5 separate regions of the Homo sapiens genome follow, and all the other regions are linked to region 2. The links are contacts of gene promoters, found by promoter capture Hi-C in blood cells and fetal thymus (Javierre and others, 2016). All regions are on one chromosome and are shown on one strand. The core of a region is centred on a gene start or on the middle of the fragment in contact, and the rest is flanking DNA. Distances in the headings are between cores, read along the strand shown. Region 1 overlaps MAP9 (microtubule associated protein 9). Region 2 holds the start of RAPGEF2 (Rap guanine nucleotide exchange factor 2). Region 3 overlaps CTSO (cathepsin O). Region 4 holds the start of NAF1 (nuclear assembly factor 1 ribonucleoprotein). Region 5 overlaps PLRG1 (pleiotropic regulator 1).

Region 1 (2,700 bases), core at 116-2,615, 3.7 Mb after region 2:
TTGCCTATGAAAATCTACTAAGATTCAGTTTTCCAAAGGAAAGTTCCTGGTGTGATCTGGGATTACAGTTAGTTCTGCCCACAATTTTACTGAATTTTAAGCATAAAGGAACAAAGATAGAATGAAACGGAGACCAAGTCCTGTCACATACCCTGGGCCACCATTCATGAACTTGTATATGCAAGGTTAAGGATTTTTTGTTTTTCATTCTTTGTATTTTATAAAGGAATTATTAGTTGATGTTAACCTTCATAAAAATCTCCTTGCATATCATCAGTAAATACAGTGCTGGTAAATATTTCATACTTTGCATATTAGATACCAGTGGTAACGTCAGACAAAACTTTATTTCAGGCATGTATTGGGGAACTGCTCCTTTCTTCCTGACCCCACAATCTCATTAACTTTGAAATGAGCAAAGGATGTAAGCAGAGCAAAGAACACTAGAATAATATCCAGGACACTGGGGGAAAGGCCTCTGTATATTATATATGACTTCAGCAAATAAGTTAAGCTTCAGTATCCTCATGATGAGGAAGCTAAAAATAACCCTCTTTCTATTCCTGCAAAATTGTGAGAGTTTATTGAAGTGCATCTCATAAACTATAAAAAACTACAAAAATGCAAACAGATGCATAATGAAACAATTAACTTGTTAAAATGTACCTTCTAAGTATAGTGAGTGAAATCAATGCTGGAGAGAAGAGGAACATAATTGAACTTCGTTATTAAGAAAATGCGAGCATATATAGCAACTAAAAATTTGTCTGAGACAGGTGGATGTATATAATTAGAAGTTTATGGTAGATAATCAGGAAAGCAATAATCCACCTATTTCATACCTTAAAAAAAAAAAAAACCTGTGGTGGGTTACAATGAATAAGAAAATACTGTATTTTAACCACAAGGTGGCATCAGGATCCTAAATGCTCTACTTATATATGCAATGTTATATTCAGTACGTGTAATATAAAAATAATTACCTAAATAGGTAATTGTATACATTGATTACCAAAAAAAGCGCTTTTCTTAAAGTATAGGCATTTTTTTTTCTTTTTGGGAACTTGACAGTACTTCTGGAAGTGGAATTTTTGTAGAAAATATATTAAAGTTGTCATTCTCAGGTTCTTCAGGTTGAAAAGTAAAAATTGAGGCTAGTGTTCCTAAGATAATATCTGGCATATATAATAAGTATTTAAATGAATAAATTAATATATGAATGATTTATCTTTGAAAGAGGGAATATGGTTCATGAGTTTATCCTCTAAATTCTTTGACTTTTTTTTTTTCTGTACAGGTTTGGAACTCAATGTTTTTAATGTGGTGAGATATTGCTGAGTAGCAAGTAATGCTTTATGAAACTATTAGAGCTTGAAGGTTTTCTCTGTCCTTGCTTGTCTTTTGTAAAAAGTATAATAACCAGACTTTATAGTCACTACTGAAGTGACAGTTGCTCTATAAAGTGAAAGTATTTTTCACAGGATATGTTTTTATTTTAATACTAACATGACTGAAATCATGAACTTTGGAGTCAGGATGCTTCTCCTTTAATCTGAGATCTGCAGCCTGCTAGAGTTTGTGACTTTGGGCATGAGACCTCTTTGTTCTCATTTTATTCATCTTTAAAAACGGGATAATAGTTGCCTGCCTCTAGGAGTTTGAGGCAATTAAATGAGTTCACATATTTGAAGTGCTTAGAATAGTACTGGCATAAATTTAGCACTCTATAAATGTTCTGATTATTCATTTTATTATTTAGCGTTTGTTTATAAACATGCTCAGCAGGTATAAAGTATCAGTCATGCGGGATGCGTAAGTTCTAGAGATCTGCTGTACATTGTGCCTATAGTTAACAGTACTGTCTTTTGCACTGAATGTATTAAGAAGGTAGATCTCATGTTTGTTCTTACCACAATAATAAAAAAAATTGACTCAACACCTTCTTTCAGGCATTATATAATATTCTGCTTAAACTGAGGCTCAAAAGACATGCAAGCATTTGTCAGGAGGAGAAGCAGGAAGTGGATATTCTAGGCAGGGGGATCAGCTTAGGTAAAGGTATGGTAGCAGGAGGGATTGGAGGGATTGTGGTATGTGTGCATGACAACTGTTAGCCCAGCATTTCAGAAACACAGATGACAAAATGGCTGTAGATAAGGCAGTGAAGGACAAAACCATAAAATCCGTTTTATGTTGTTTAAAGGCAGTTAAGCTTTTATTCTGTAGGATTGGATCATGGGGAGCCATTGAATAATTTTGTAGAAAGGAGTGATGTGATCTGATTTGGATTTTGTAAATATCATGGAAGCAGTGATCTAGGAAAGAGTGGATAAGGACCCGACAGCAGGGATGTAGAAAGTGGAATAAATGAGATATTTGGCAATTAGAATTGATAGGATATATTGATACTCTGGATTTAGGGGATAATAGAGGGAGGAATCTAGAGCCCTTGGATTTGGGGTTGAACATTTGGCTGGAGTTTAGGATGTAGCTAAAATTGTCAGCTACTTATAATAATACCAATTTGGTATGGTTGTGGAATCTTCTGGCAGAATCCATAAGCCCATTTTTAGGTAAATGGGAGGAAGATGTTAATTAGACCAATTTTGAAGTTGAGAAAAATGCATTTGTAGAACAATAGAAACATAAATATGTATAGCAGGTAAAATGCAGGCAAAAAATATATACATGGAAAGTCTT
Region 2 (2,737 bases), core at 213-2,712:
CTCTCTGTCTCTCCCTCTCTCTCTCTCTCTCTCTCTCTCTCTCTCTCTCTCGGCTGGGCAACATAGTGGGAAAGGTCAGTCATGGGGAGGGAAGAGTTAAGGAGCAGAATGTCAAGGAGAGGGAAAAATAAAACCAGGATAGGCGGAGTAAAAGACTCGGAGGTGGGATGCCTTTGGAAGTTGGGGGTCCTGATGCAAGAAGTGGGGTGCTCGGGGCGAACTGTGTCAGGAAGGAGGTGGGGGGACAGGGGAAGACGCAGCCTGCGAGGCAGAAATCCGGCCAAGGGCAGGCGGCCGCCGCGTTCTCACCTGGGGGGTCCTTTCGGGGGGATTCTTCATCACCGCCTGGCGGAAGCTGTTATCTACGTAGGACGCCATCTCCCCTCTGGGAGCGGGCCGGGGCCGCTCCGCACCCTGGCCGGCCTCCTCCCGGCCCAGCGCCGCTGCTGCCTCCGCCCTGCGCGCTGCGCCCGCCCGCCCGCCCGCGACTAATCAGCCAAACCGCGGCGGCGGCGGCGCGGGGCCCGCGGGGGGGCGGCTCGGCTGGGCCCGGCGGCCGAGAGCGCGGTACAGGCGCGAGGGGCTGGACGCAGCCGGGAGGGTCGCGGCGCCCCTAGGCTGCCGTGCGATGCGGCCCGCAGGCGGAACTCCCCTTCCTCCTCCTCCTCCTCTTCCTCGCCGCTCCGCCGGCTTCCTCCGGCCCTGGCTCGACACGCCTCCCCGGCTCCACTCGGGGGACAGTGGCGGCTCCTCCTGGCCCCAGCGGGCCCGAGTTATTTTTAGGGAGGTACGAGTGGCAGTGGGGAGGGCTGTGGGCAGGCGGAGCCTCCTCCCCCACGGCGCTGAGGGTCGCCCCCTCCTCTCAGGGGCTTGCGCAGCCGCCGCCCAGGGGTCTCCGAGAATCACTTGGATCTTCCGCGTCCCCAGTCCTCGGGCGCCTCGGCCGCCGGTCGGGAGGACGGACCAGGTGGGTCTGGCTCAGGTCCGGGCGCTGCGAAGCCCGATCGCCTCGGCCGCCGCTCCTGGTCTCTGTCTACTGGGCTCGGCCGTCCCTCCCGACTGCTGCTGCATCCCCTCGGGCCGCCCAGCCGCCGCCGCCGCCGCCTCTGCTGCTCGGGCCGCCGCTGTGGGCTCCGCCGCCGCCGCCTCCCCCCATCAGCGCGCCCGGAGCGGAGCTGCCCCGGCGCCGGCGCCGCCGCGGCCAGAGCACCCGGCCCGGGCTGCAGCCCTCCGGCCCAGTCGCTCTCGGCAACTTTGTTCCTCGTCTGCGCGGGGCGGAGGAGGGGGAAGAGGGGGCCGCGGACAGCCCGGGTTCGGACTCCCGGCGCGGGCGTCCGAGGGCCGAAAGCCGAGAGCCGCGCACAGCCCCCTCGGAGAGAGTGTTTGGGAAGCGGCGATTCCCCTCCTCTTCCTCCGCCTCTTCCTCCTCCTGCGCCTTCTCCGGCCGCCGGAGCCGCTCCTCAGGGAGGAAGCGGCCTCTGGGGCTTGTTGCTTTGTGCTGCAACCATGGTGAGGAATGAGTGACAGCGTGGGGGCGAGTCGGCGGCCGCCGCATCATCGGGGGGCGGGGCAGCCCCGTCGCGCCGGGTCCCGCCTCCCCGCTCCCCGCCCGCCAGCGGCCGCGCCCTCGCGTCTGAGCGGCACCTTCGGCGGCGCCCAGGTGAGCAGCGCTCTGGCCGCAAGTGGGTCGCGGAGCCCTCGGCCGGGCTGTCGGGTCCCGCGCGCGGCCTGGACCCGAAGAGGGGGCGCAAGTCCTGGTGCCCCGGAGAGAAGCGCAGGGCTTTCCTCACGCAGTGTCCCCCACTGTCTCACGCCGCGCCCCCTCCCCACACCCGACGCGCCCTACTAGGAGACCCAGCCGCGTCGGGTCGCTGCTCCCCGCCCGCTCCTGGCGCCACGCCGCCGCCCAGGGGCTGAAAGCTAACCTTGGGCAAAAGACCGGCCCACCAGCCCGGGCTGTACTGGGCATTCTTTTTGAGCCCAAGAGTTGCGTCCGAGTTGCTTCTGTGGCGATAAATCCTCTTAGGATTTATTTTGCTTATTTGTAATTTGCTGCACCCTCCCCTGCTTTCCAAGCCCACTCTGGCACCTCAGACAGTAAAATGACCACGAAATTAGGCAGAGAGGTTTCAACACCAGACCCACTACCACCCCTAGACCAACAAACACTCCAGATTTAAAGTTGATCACTCCTTAGCGACAGACCAGGATGGCAAGTTCTGTGACATAATCAGAAACATTTATTGGTAGGTCTGGCTTTGCCTTGGACAGAACAAGCCTCCTCCTCTAGATGCTCAAATTTCCAAACCGGACCCACATGGTGCAGAAACAATACCTCGTCCTTCAAGATGTCACCGCTCCTGCTGATTCCCTCAGCTCCCCCCCACTCCTTGCCCCGGCCACGTAGAGGTGTGTTAAGGTCAGCCCAAGCATCGGGGACCACTCTGCTGTTCTGGTCCCAGGGATTTATTTTTGTTTGCCCCCACCCCCCACAAGTTCTTATTTTGATATCTATAGACACAATGAGTTTTATGTATGAGCTACTGCGTTGAACTTTTCAAACATGATTTTCAACATCTAGTTTAAACACTTGGAATAGATTGTCAGCTAACATTTTGGGGTTCCTTAAGTCACCTGTGTGCACTAAACAGCTTGTGTGACTTCCTAGCAAAGGGACTGTCCCTGCCCAACCTTGTGAAAGGGAATCTGAGTTACAAATTGTATCTGTAGACCTTTT
Region 3 (2,700 bases), core at 197-2,696, 3.2 Mb after region 2:
GGATGACAGGTGTGAGCCACTGCTCCCAGGCTTTTTTTTTTTTTTTTTTTAATCAATCACAGGAGCAATTCCTGTGAACTAATAGGGAGAGGTCCAGGTAGAGCTATCTGATTGCAATGTAATTCTGACCCTGAGTGAAGGAAAAAAGGAAGGAAGACTGGGGAAGAGTTCCATGCTGTCTCACAGTCCAAGGAAACTTTGGTTTGGCAAGGCCATCAGGGAGTCATTAATCAAAAACCAGCTGTCAGGGGAGTCCCATTTGTCTCCCAAATAGCAAGCCTTAGCACTAAGTCATGAGCTAGGTGCAGCCCGTAAGAACTGTGGCTTCCCTTGGTGTGATCATGGAGATTTCAACTAGCAGCAGCTAAACTCCCTATAGAAAGAAGGCTGGGAGGCACATTCTCATGGCTGCCACATTCTCTCCTGTGCATTCTTAACATCCTACATTTTCAGTGCCTTCCTGACTACTCCAGCTCACAAAGATGGCCAGGCAGTACTTATTGAATGAATGAATCCTCTGAATTCCTTAGCAGTTAATAGTCTCTGGCTTATATTTGTCATTTGCCATATACAGAATTACCTTGTATTCTAGTTCTATTTTTACATTTATATATCCAGGTTATATTGAAAGCCTTGCTTCATCAAGATTATTTTAAAGTACCTCAAAAACTTTATTAATTTGTTGATTAGCAATCTTCCTAGGTATGCACAAAAGGAAAAAAAATAAGATTATGACAACTTCCAGCAATAATTTACTTAAAAATAAACAGCTTAAAGTTATTAAGGGCATGATATGGAAAATGTCACTTATCTATTTATTCAACAACAAACACTTATCAAGGATCTATTGTGTGTCAGCCATGTGCTAAGTGAGTGTCTCACCATAAGGAATAAGACATATAAGCAGTCATCATTTTGCTTATAGGTTTTTGATACAGACACACAATAAACACATAAGTACATAGACAAATATGTAGAAGCGCTAGGGTTGGAAAGGTACCAAATGATAGCCCCCTGAAATTTTATTTATTCTATGTAATTGGTTAGTATTACGAAATTGAAGCATGTTTATATATAAAAGATAAGCTTAAGATAAATTGTCACAAAATTCAAAGTTGAGAAATCAGTAAATAATGGTCACATTTCCCCTCCAGATAGAGAAACCAGGCTATCTTCTTCAAATATTTCCAGAATTGCATCTGTCACAGAGCCTTTGTACCCTACATGAGATAGAGATATCTATAAAGCTTTAATAGAATCAGATTGATTTATTAATTTATTTACCCAGTCTGTTTTTCATGCTTCATTACTTAGTTCCGGGAAACACAAAGGTGAAGAGGACATATTCCATATTCATAATTGTTTAACCACATGAGTGAATGTCTAAAGGTGACAATTTGCTTCTAGTATCTAGTGTTTATTTGCAGTCTATTTCTTTTTTCCCACTATGTCAATACTTTAACAGCTGTATATGGAATGCTTGCAACAAACCTGGTGATGGGGAATTATAAATGAATAAAATACACTTTTCTCAGCCTCAAAAAATGTCTGCAATTAGATAATAATTCTAATAGAAAATATTTATGAATCTCCTATGGATATCTTATACAACTTTACATTGTAGTCTGAAGGAAATCAAGCTTTAACTTTATAATTGAAAAATTTCTCCAAGTTAGTTATACACAGTTTACTTTGGAAAACTGACATAGTGGATATGAAATAGTTTTTGTTTTTCTTCTAGGAAAGTCTTAATAGACATCGATACTTGAATTCTTTATTTCCCAGTGAAAACTCCACCGCCTTCTATGGAATAAATCAGTTTTCCTATTTGTTTCCTGAAGAGTTTAAAGGTATAGTCCGATGTTGCTATTTAGGTGGTTTCCTGATTTTAATTTGCTTGCTTAACTTTTGATAAATATTTCATTGTAAATCTAATATATTGAGTAATAGTTAACATTTATTAAGTGTCTACTAAATGTCAGGCATGTACCATGTGCTCACATAAGAAAATAAATTCATGGCCAGTCTCTTCTAATTACTGCTTAAGAAATGAATGTTATAATTATGCACATTTCCATGTGGCTATAAAGGATAATTGTCTAATCACTTCTGCAGTTTTCTAGTGCTTTTTCTCTTCAGGACACACATGGTTCCATGGGTTATGATAGAACAAATGATGTCAATTATACTTATTTTTATTATTGACCTGGTTCTATCAAACAAATCATTTTATGTGTCAACTCCAGCCTTATTGTAGGAATTCTCTTTTGTAGTTTTTAATGAATGCATTTTATGTTATAGAAAAGCACAAGAGAAAATCTAAAATAGCAGGTCTACTAGAAGGCTACTGTTTCTTCTTTAAAAGTTCCTCCCAAAGAATCTCAAGGATATAATATAATATAATATTGGTTGTCTTTTAGTATAATATTGGTTGTCTCCCTATAATATAATATTGATTGTCTTTATATATAACAAATATATATGATATATATAATATAATATATTGTAATATAATATTGGTTGTATTTTCATTTTATGTTTCTACTCAGCCATTTATTTAAGAAGCAAACCTTCCAAGTTTCCCAGATACTCAGCAGAAGTACATATGTCCATCCCCAATGTGTCTTTGCCGTTAAGATTTGACTGGAGGGACAAGCAGGTTGTGACACAAGTGAGAAACCAGCAGATGGTACGTTGAAA
Region 4 (2,700 bases), core at 81-2,580, 4.1 Mb before region 2:
TGTGCTAGTAAGTTCGTATCCCAAGTTTAAAGTCCTTCTTCACTTTGGAGGATTTCCATGAAATAGCCTACCAATCCTACTTCCCATTTCTGCTGCACTTGGATTTTCTATTTCATATTTCAAATATTTTTCTAGTTATCTCCTGTGCATTGCCCTTCTCTACTTCAAGTAGATTGTAAGCTTCTTAAAACCTTACTCTTATTACACTTGCCTTGCATTTCTATGAAGATCTACTGTTGTAGATGACACACTAAATTCTCAGTGAATAATTTATAAAATCTTTAGCACAGTCCTTGGCACATATGCATGTTTAACAAATGGTATCAATGATTATTATTACTACACAGGGACTGATGCCTCAAACTGAAGACCTAATAGGAAACCAGAAAATTCTGATCTCTTCCTCAGTCCTAAGAACTCTGCTTGCTTTCTCCACAATTTAGACTAGTGGTTTCCAACAATAAGTGAGTACATTTCAGTCTCATAGTCTCATCTCTCTACTACGAAACAGTGCTAAGTATGATATAGACATCACCATAACATGAACAACACAGCAAAATTTTGTCCATTACTGCTCTCTTTGAGGGTACTTTGGAGAAAGGAAAATGGAATAGTTGTAGTTACATTTTTGAAAAAATGGTTAATACCCTATCTATCGACAGATGGATCTATTGATGGATAAACTTCATTTAACTTTCATGAAGTTACTAGCGTCTTGTCAAGACTTCCTGGCTCAAGTTTCTGATGTACAGAACTTAGCATTCTTCAGGCACCCCCCTGTTGTATAATCCCTGCTTCATTTTGGCGCTTCAAGCAGAATTGGTTCACATGCAGCAATAGGAAAATCCGACATTCAGGCCTTGAATGGTTCACATGACGCAGTGAAAACGGTCGATTTAGGGCCTCCCTAGTCCTGATTATTTTTTTTTGAGACGGAGTCTCGCTTTCTCGCCAGGCTGGAGTGCAGTGGCGCGGTCTCGGCTCACTCCAACTTCCGCCTGCTGGGTTCAAGCGATTCTCCTGCCTCAGCCTCCCAAGTAGTGGGAATTACAGGCACGCGCCACCATGCCCAGCTAATTTTTGTATTTTTAGTAGAGATGGGGTTTCACCATGTTGGGCAGGCTGGTCTGTGAACTCCTGACCTTGTGATCCGCCCACCTCGGTCTCCCAAAGTGCTGGGATTACGAGCGTGAGCCACGGCGCCCGACCCCCTAATCCTGATTTTCGAAGATATGACGCATGTATCCTGCCCCCGCGAGCGCCGTCGCGCCGTCGCGCCACATACGTCACACGCTCTTCGGAAAGCGTTGCTGCGTAAATGGCGGGGGCGTGTCTTTTGGCTCCTCCGCGTGTAGTTACCTGAGAAACGCGGGAAGTTGGGCCCAGGCAGTGTTGCTGCGGTTGCCTAAGTTGTTTTTCTATTTCTGGAGAGAGCCGTGAGCTTGTCCAGGGGCCCCAATCCTGAGGCCGACCCGGTTTCTGGCGCGGTGCGATGGAGGTAGTGGAGGCCGCCGCCGCTCAGCTGGAAACTCTGAAATTCAATGGCACCGACTTTGGAGTTGGGGAAGGTCCGGCGGCTCCGTCTCCGGGCTCTGCCCCTGTGCCAGGGACACAGCCGCCGCTACAGTCGTTTGAGGGGTCCCCGGACGCTGGGCAGACCGTGGAGGTTAAGCCTGCCGGGGAGCAGCCTCTGCAGCCCGTTCTGAACGCCGTCGCGGCCGGGACCCCGGCGCCGCAGCCACAGCCACCGGCTGAATCGCCGGCCTGCGGAGACTGCGTCACCTCCCCAGGAGCCGCAGAGCCTGCGCGGGCGCCGGACTCCTTGGAGACCTCGGACTCGGATTCGGACTCGGACAGGTCGGGTGCCTAAGGGACCCGGAGCTGTGGGGAGAGGTCTTGTATGACGGGCGGGGGTGGCTGGGGCCTAGGAGCCTAGAGGTTGCTTGTGTGGGCCCTGGAGGGTGGGCAGGTCGTTGGTGCTCCGGGCTCACGTGTTGAAGTATTGGCTCCGACTGCCCCTTATTCGCTGCCTCTCAAAGCAGGTCGCGTTGTGAATCTGAGCTTAGTACTGACTTATTTCCTAAATTTGGTGGCCTGAAGGGTTCTATGTATAGATCGTATCATTTTTTGTTAGACTTTAGAAAACCCGAGGATCTTAGGTTATTTCCGTAACTACTCAGTTTAGGCTGTACTTTTGTGGTTATAGTTGAGTTTTGTGTCAGATCTGATTTTTTTTTATCATCACATCTAGGCTTTGTTTTTTGAACCACATACATTGGGGATCAGGAAAAGTATTATTTTTTGTGTTTCAAAGCTGGCTCTTGATGATTACGTTAATTTATAGAATCCTTGCAGGGAACACGTGTTTATGAAAGTAGCCAAACAGTGTTATTTAGTAGTATCTTATGCTTCTTACGTTTTGTGAGAGCCTTTCCCCCTTGCCCCCACACCTGTCTTTTAAATATGAAATCTCTGGGCTGGAGAGGACTCCAGCATGTGGGATGTTACTAAACCACACTGAACATTGTCTACAAATAGTTGAGTGTGTTGAGTGGGGTACTGAACAGGTTAACAAGATAGACACGTGTTGAGGAGGTGAGAAGTTTAGTTTTCAGGGAAGTCATCAGCGGAGAGTGGAAGTGAAGAAGGCTGAAGGATTTGAGTAGAAGGAGAGGGTATGAAATGTACTGGGAGGGGGAA
Region 5 (2,700 bases), core at 201-2,700, 4.6 Mb after region 2:
CTGAAATCTTAATAAGTAAAGAGAATTCAAGATTCCACAGGAAACCATTTGCTTGGAAGAAATACCAGAGTGGATTGTCACTTGATAGGAGGGCTTCTTTGTATACCATTGCTATATAGCAAATGGTCAAGGACATGGTTTACAGAGATCAAAGCAAAAGTGATCAACTTCCCTTATTTCTGAGGCTTGACTTTAGTTGAGAAAATTTGATAGATCCAGTTGAAAACTTAATATTACTTGATACATTTAAAGAGATGATAACTTTTGTATAAGGTAAATTCACTACTGTTGATTTTTTTTGTGTTTTTTTAGGACAAGAAGTTGAATACTTTGTGGCAGGTACACATCCATACCCACCAGGACCTGGTTAGTGAGCTGTTATATATTGAAAATGTCTTAAAAATGTCACATATATTTTCACTAACGAGCCAATAATGAGATTCTTGTTGCCTATAAAATGCAAGATAAGCTCAGTAGCCAAGCATCCATGCATAGCTTTGTAGGTAATAATGAATACTCATATGCCTTCATTCAGCAAACATTCTTAAGTACGTATAATTTTTCAGGCAATGTGCTAGGAATTCAAAGACAGTAAAACTGTTGCAGGCCTAGTTATTTATTATCTGGTGGTTTAGGCAGACATGTAAATATCACTAAGCTTGTAAAAATGATGGAAATGTTAGAAGCAGTATCTGAGAAACATGTCCTCTGTCTGTATTAAGGCATTGGTCCACAGATGGAGTGGCCAGTGTAACAGGGTAGAGGACAAAAGGCTTAGTATGTAAAGAAAGTACAGGGAAATTGGGTGTTTCTAGTTTTAGTAAGTTACATCCACTCTTGGAAACATTCTGTTAGTATTTGAGGAACTGCTTAATACTGACTTGAAACTAATACCCAAATATAATGGAAATTAACTTTACTATTCTGGGCTGCTTTAATACCATGTGGGCTGTGATCAAATCAAATTTGAGTTACGTGTTATTAAGCAGTATTTATTGTAGAAATTAAAAACAAAGATGAGCAAAACTTAATCAAATTTGTATAATATCACTGCCTGGAGATAATAAACATTTGGTGTATGTTTTCCTTCATCATTTTATTTTAAGTGCATGTAAATGAATAATACACAGCTACTAAAAGAAGTTGATTTTTCATTTTAATAGGGGTTGCTTTGACAGCAGATACTAAGATCCAGAGAATGCCAAGTGAATCAGCTGCACAGTCCTTAGCGGTGGCATTACCTTTGCAGACCAAGTATGAAATATTATAATTACAAAGATCTTAAAAGCATATTTCACTGTTCACATTTTTTCTTTTTAAAATTTCTTTATAACTATTATATGACATTTTCCTTTATCAGGACTTTATAACAATTTAAAATAAAGGGTTAGTTTTGCAGAATACATGACTGGAGGCATTAATTACTTTGAAAATATTATTTCTTTTGCCCCAGGGCTGATGCAAATCGTACTGCCCCTAGTGGAAGTGAATACCGACATCCTGGGGCTTCTGACCGTCCACAGCCTACAGCGATGAATTCAGTAAGTTTTTCTGCATCAAATAGCAGGTTTCTAACTTTTGGAACATGTTGCCATATTTCCCTCTTCTTTGGAATTATTAAGATAAATAGCAGCCTGAGCTAGTCATTCATATTTCATAGCCCTAAAACTCAAGTTGGTAGTAAATTAACGTATTTTTTGGAATTTAATTCTGTTATTTGTCTACTTGTACATTGTGTGTAATATATATTTTGATAAAGATAATGTGATGTTGGTATTTATTGCCCACTATTAAAAATGCAAGGAGAGTTTTTCTGAAACTTGTGTTAGTATGTATTGAATATGAAAGTCTTTTTTTTTTTATTAAATTTTAAGTTGGTGTGTACAGTTATCTTGAGTGCTGTTAGTGTTGTACTATTCATGGGCTATACAACTAGTCTTATAAATGAGCATTTAGAAATAAGTTTATCTGTTTGTAAGTAAATGGCAACTGGTATTAGTATGGTAGAAATAGTTGTTGAATTTTCTATAGTTATTTTATTGATTTATCTGCAGCATAATAAAATATGCTGCCACTTGAAATAAGTGCTGGTTTTGCTTCTCAGCTCATTATGCAATTGATTTGACTTTATGAAGTGAATGAATGTGTAACTGCCACATCTCCTTTCCTCCTTTATTCCATTCAGAGCACGTCTTCTGTCCAGGCTCTCTACCCTCCTTATGAGGGTATAATTTAAGCTTCTTGAGGGCAGGAACTTTATGGGCTTATTTATGTTTTGGATGACTAGATGACTGCTAACAACAGATGGTATATCAGGCAGTATACCTGTTAAAATAGTATTTAAATATTGTATTAGAAGATAAATAGAAGGAACTGTCAGTCTTTGCTATATTAAACCAATAATGTTAAAATATGACAATGAAAGACAGTGGCACTAATACACTTAAAATGACTTTAATATTGGGAGCTTACATGGAGCATTTACTACTTATTAAATCTTTGTAGTAACCCTATGAAATAGGCACTATTCTTCCCATTTTACAGGTGAGCCACATAGAGGTTACATGATTGTTACCTAATGTCAAACAGCTAGTAATTGGCCAAGCTGGGTTTTGAACCCGTACACAGTGATGTGTGCTCTTAAGTCTAATGCTCTGCCTGTCTGTGATTTTATAATTGCTTTTTTAAGTTAACATACAG

Evidence for each region. The method cuts DNA at HindIII sites, captures the fragments that hold promoters and counts their contacts. A CHiCAGO score of 5 or more calls a contact.
Region 1: a contact is called between a fragment that was not itself captured here and the fragment with the promoter of RAPGEF2 in region 2, in 2 of 17 cell types (total CD4 T cells and non-activated CD4 T cells). The highest score is 8.6, in total CD4 T cells.
Region 3: a fragment that was not itself captured here is called in contact with the fragment with the promoter of RAPGEF2 in region 2 in 1 of 17 cell types (total CD8 T cells); the score reaches 5.6 in total CD8 T cells.
Region 4: the fragment with the promoter of NAF1 here is called in contact with the fragment with the promoter of RAPGEF2 in region 2 in 1 of 17 cell types (activated CD4 T cells); the score reaches 6.0 in activated CD4 T cells.
Region 5: a contact is called between a fragment that was not itself captured here and the fragment with the promoter of RAPGEF2 in region 2, in 1 of 17 cell types (non-activated CD4 T cells). The highest score is 6.0, in non-activated CD4 T cells.

Annotation. Positions count from the first base shown.
Region 1 is chr4:155,369,876-155,372,575 of GRCh38, reverse strand. The region is part of intron 4 of MAP9 (microtubule associated protein 9); the gene reads left to right. Among named protein-coding and RNA genes, the nearest start is that of MAP9, 5.7 kb to the left of the region's middle. The HindIII fragment of the contact is 1,698 bases long and covers 517-2,214 here.
Region 2 is chr4:159,101,804-159,104,540 of GRCh38, reverse strand. It overlaps RAPGEF2 (Rap guanine nucleotide exchange factor 2), which reads right to left and starts at 1,462. Exons shown (of 30, transcript NM_001394067.2): 1 at 310-1,462. The coding sequence starts at 378. RefSeq lists silencers at 323-742, 710-1,004, 753-1,042, 1,083-1,302, 1,433-1,972 and an enhancer at 1,621-2,312. The HindIII fragment of the contact is 5,553 bases long and covers 1-2,737 here.
Region 3 is chr4:155,942,306-155,945,005 of GRCh38, reverse strand. CTSO (cathepsin O) reads left to right here. Exons shown (of 8, transcript NM_001334.3): 2 at 1,742-1,850; 3 at 2,550-2,689. Among named protein-coding and RNA genes, the nearest start is that of CTSO, 10 kb to the left of the region's middle. The HindIII fragment of the contact is 393 bases long and covers 1,250-1,642 here.
Region 4 is chr4:163,165,520-163,168,219 of GRCh38, reverse strand. It overlaps NAF1 (nuclear assembly factor 1 ribonucleoprotein), which reads left to right and starts at 1,330. Exons shown (of 8, transcript NM_138386.3): 1 at 1,330-1,857. The coding sequence starts at 1,493. RefSeq lists enhancers at 1,377-1,576, 1,597-1,716, 1,747-1,826, 1,318-2,185. The HindIII fragment of the contact is 3,845 bases long and covers 183-2,700 here.
Region 5 is chr4:154,544,677-154,547,376 of GRCh38, reverse strand. It overlaps PLRG1 (pleiotropic regulator 1), which reads left to right. Exons shown (of 15, transcript NM_002669.4): 4 at 313-366; 5 at 1,164-1,254; 6 at 1,454-1,541. Among named protein-coding and RNA genes, the nearest start is that of PLRG1, 4.4 kb to the left of the region's middle. The HindIII fragment of the contact is 1,579 bases long and covers 661-2,239 here.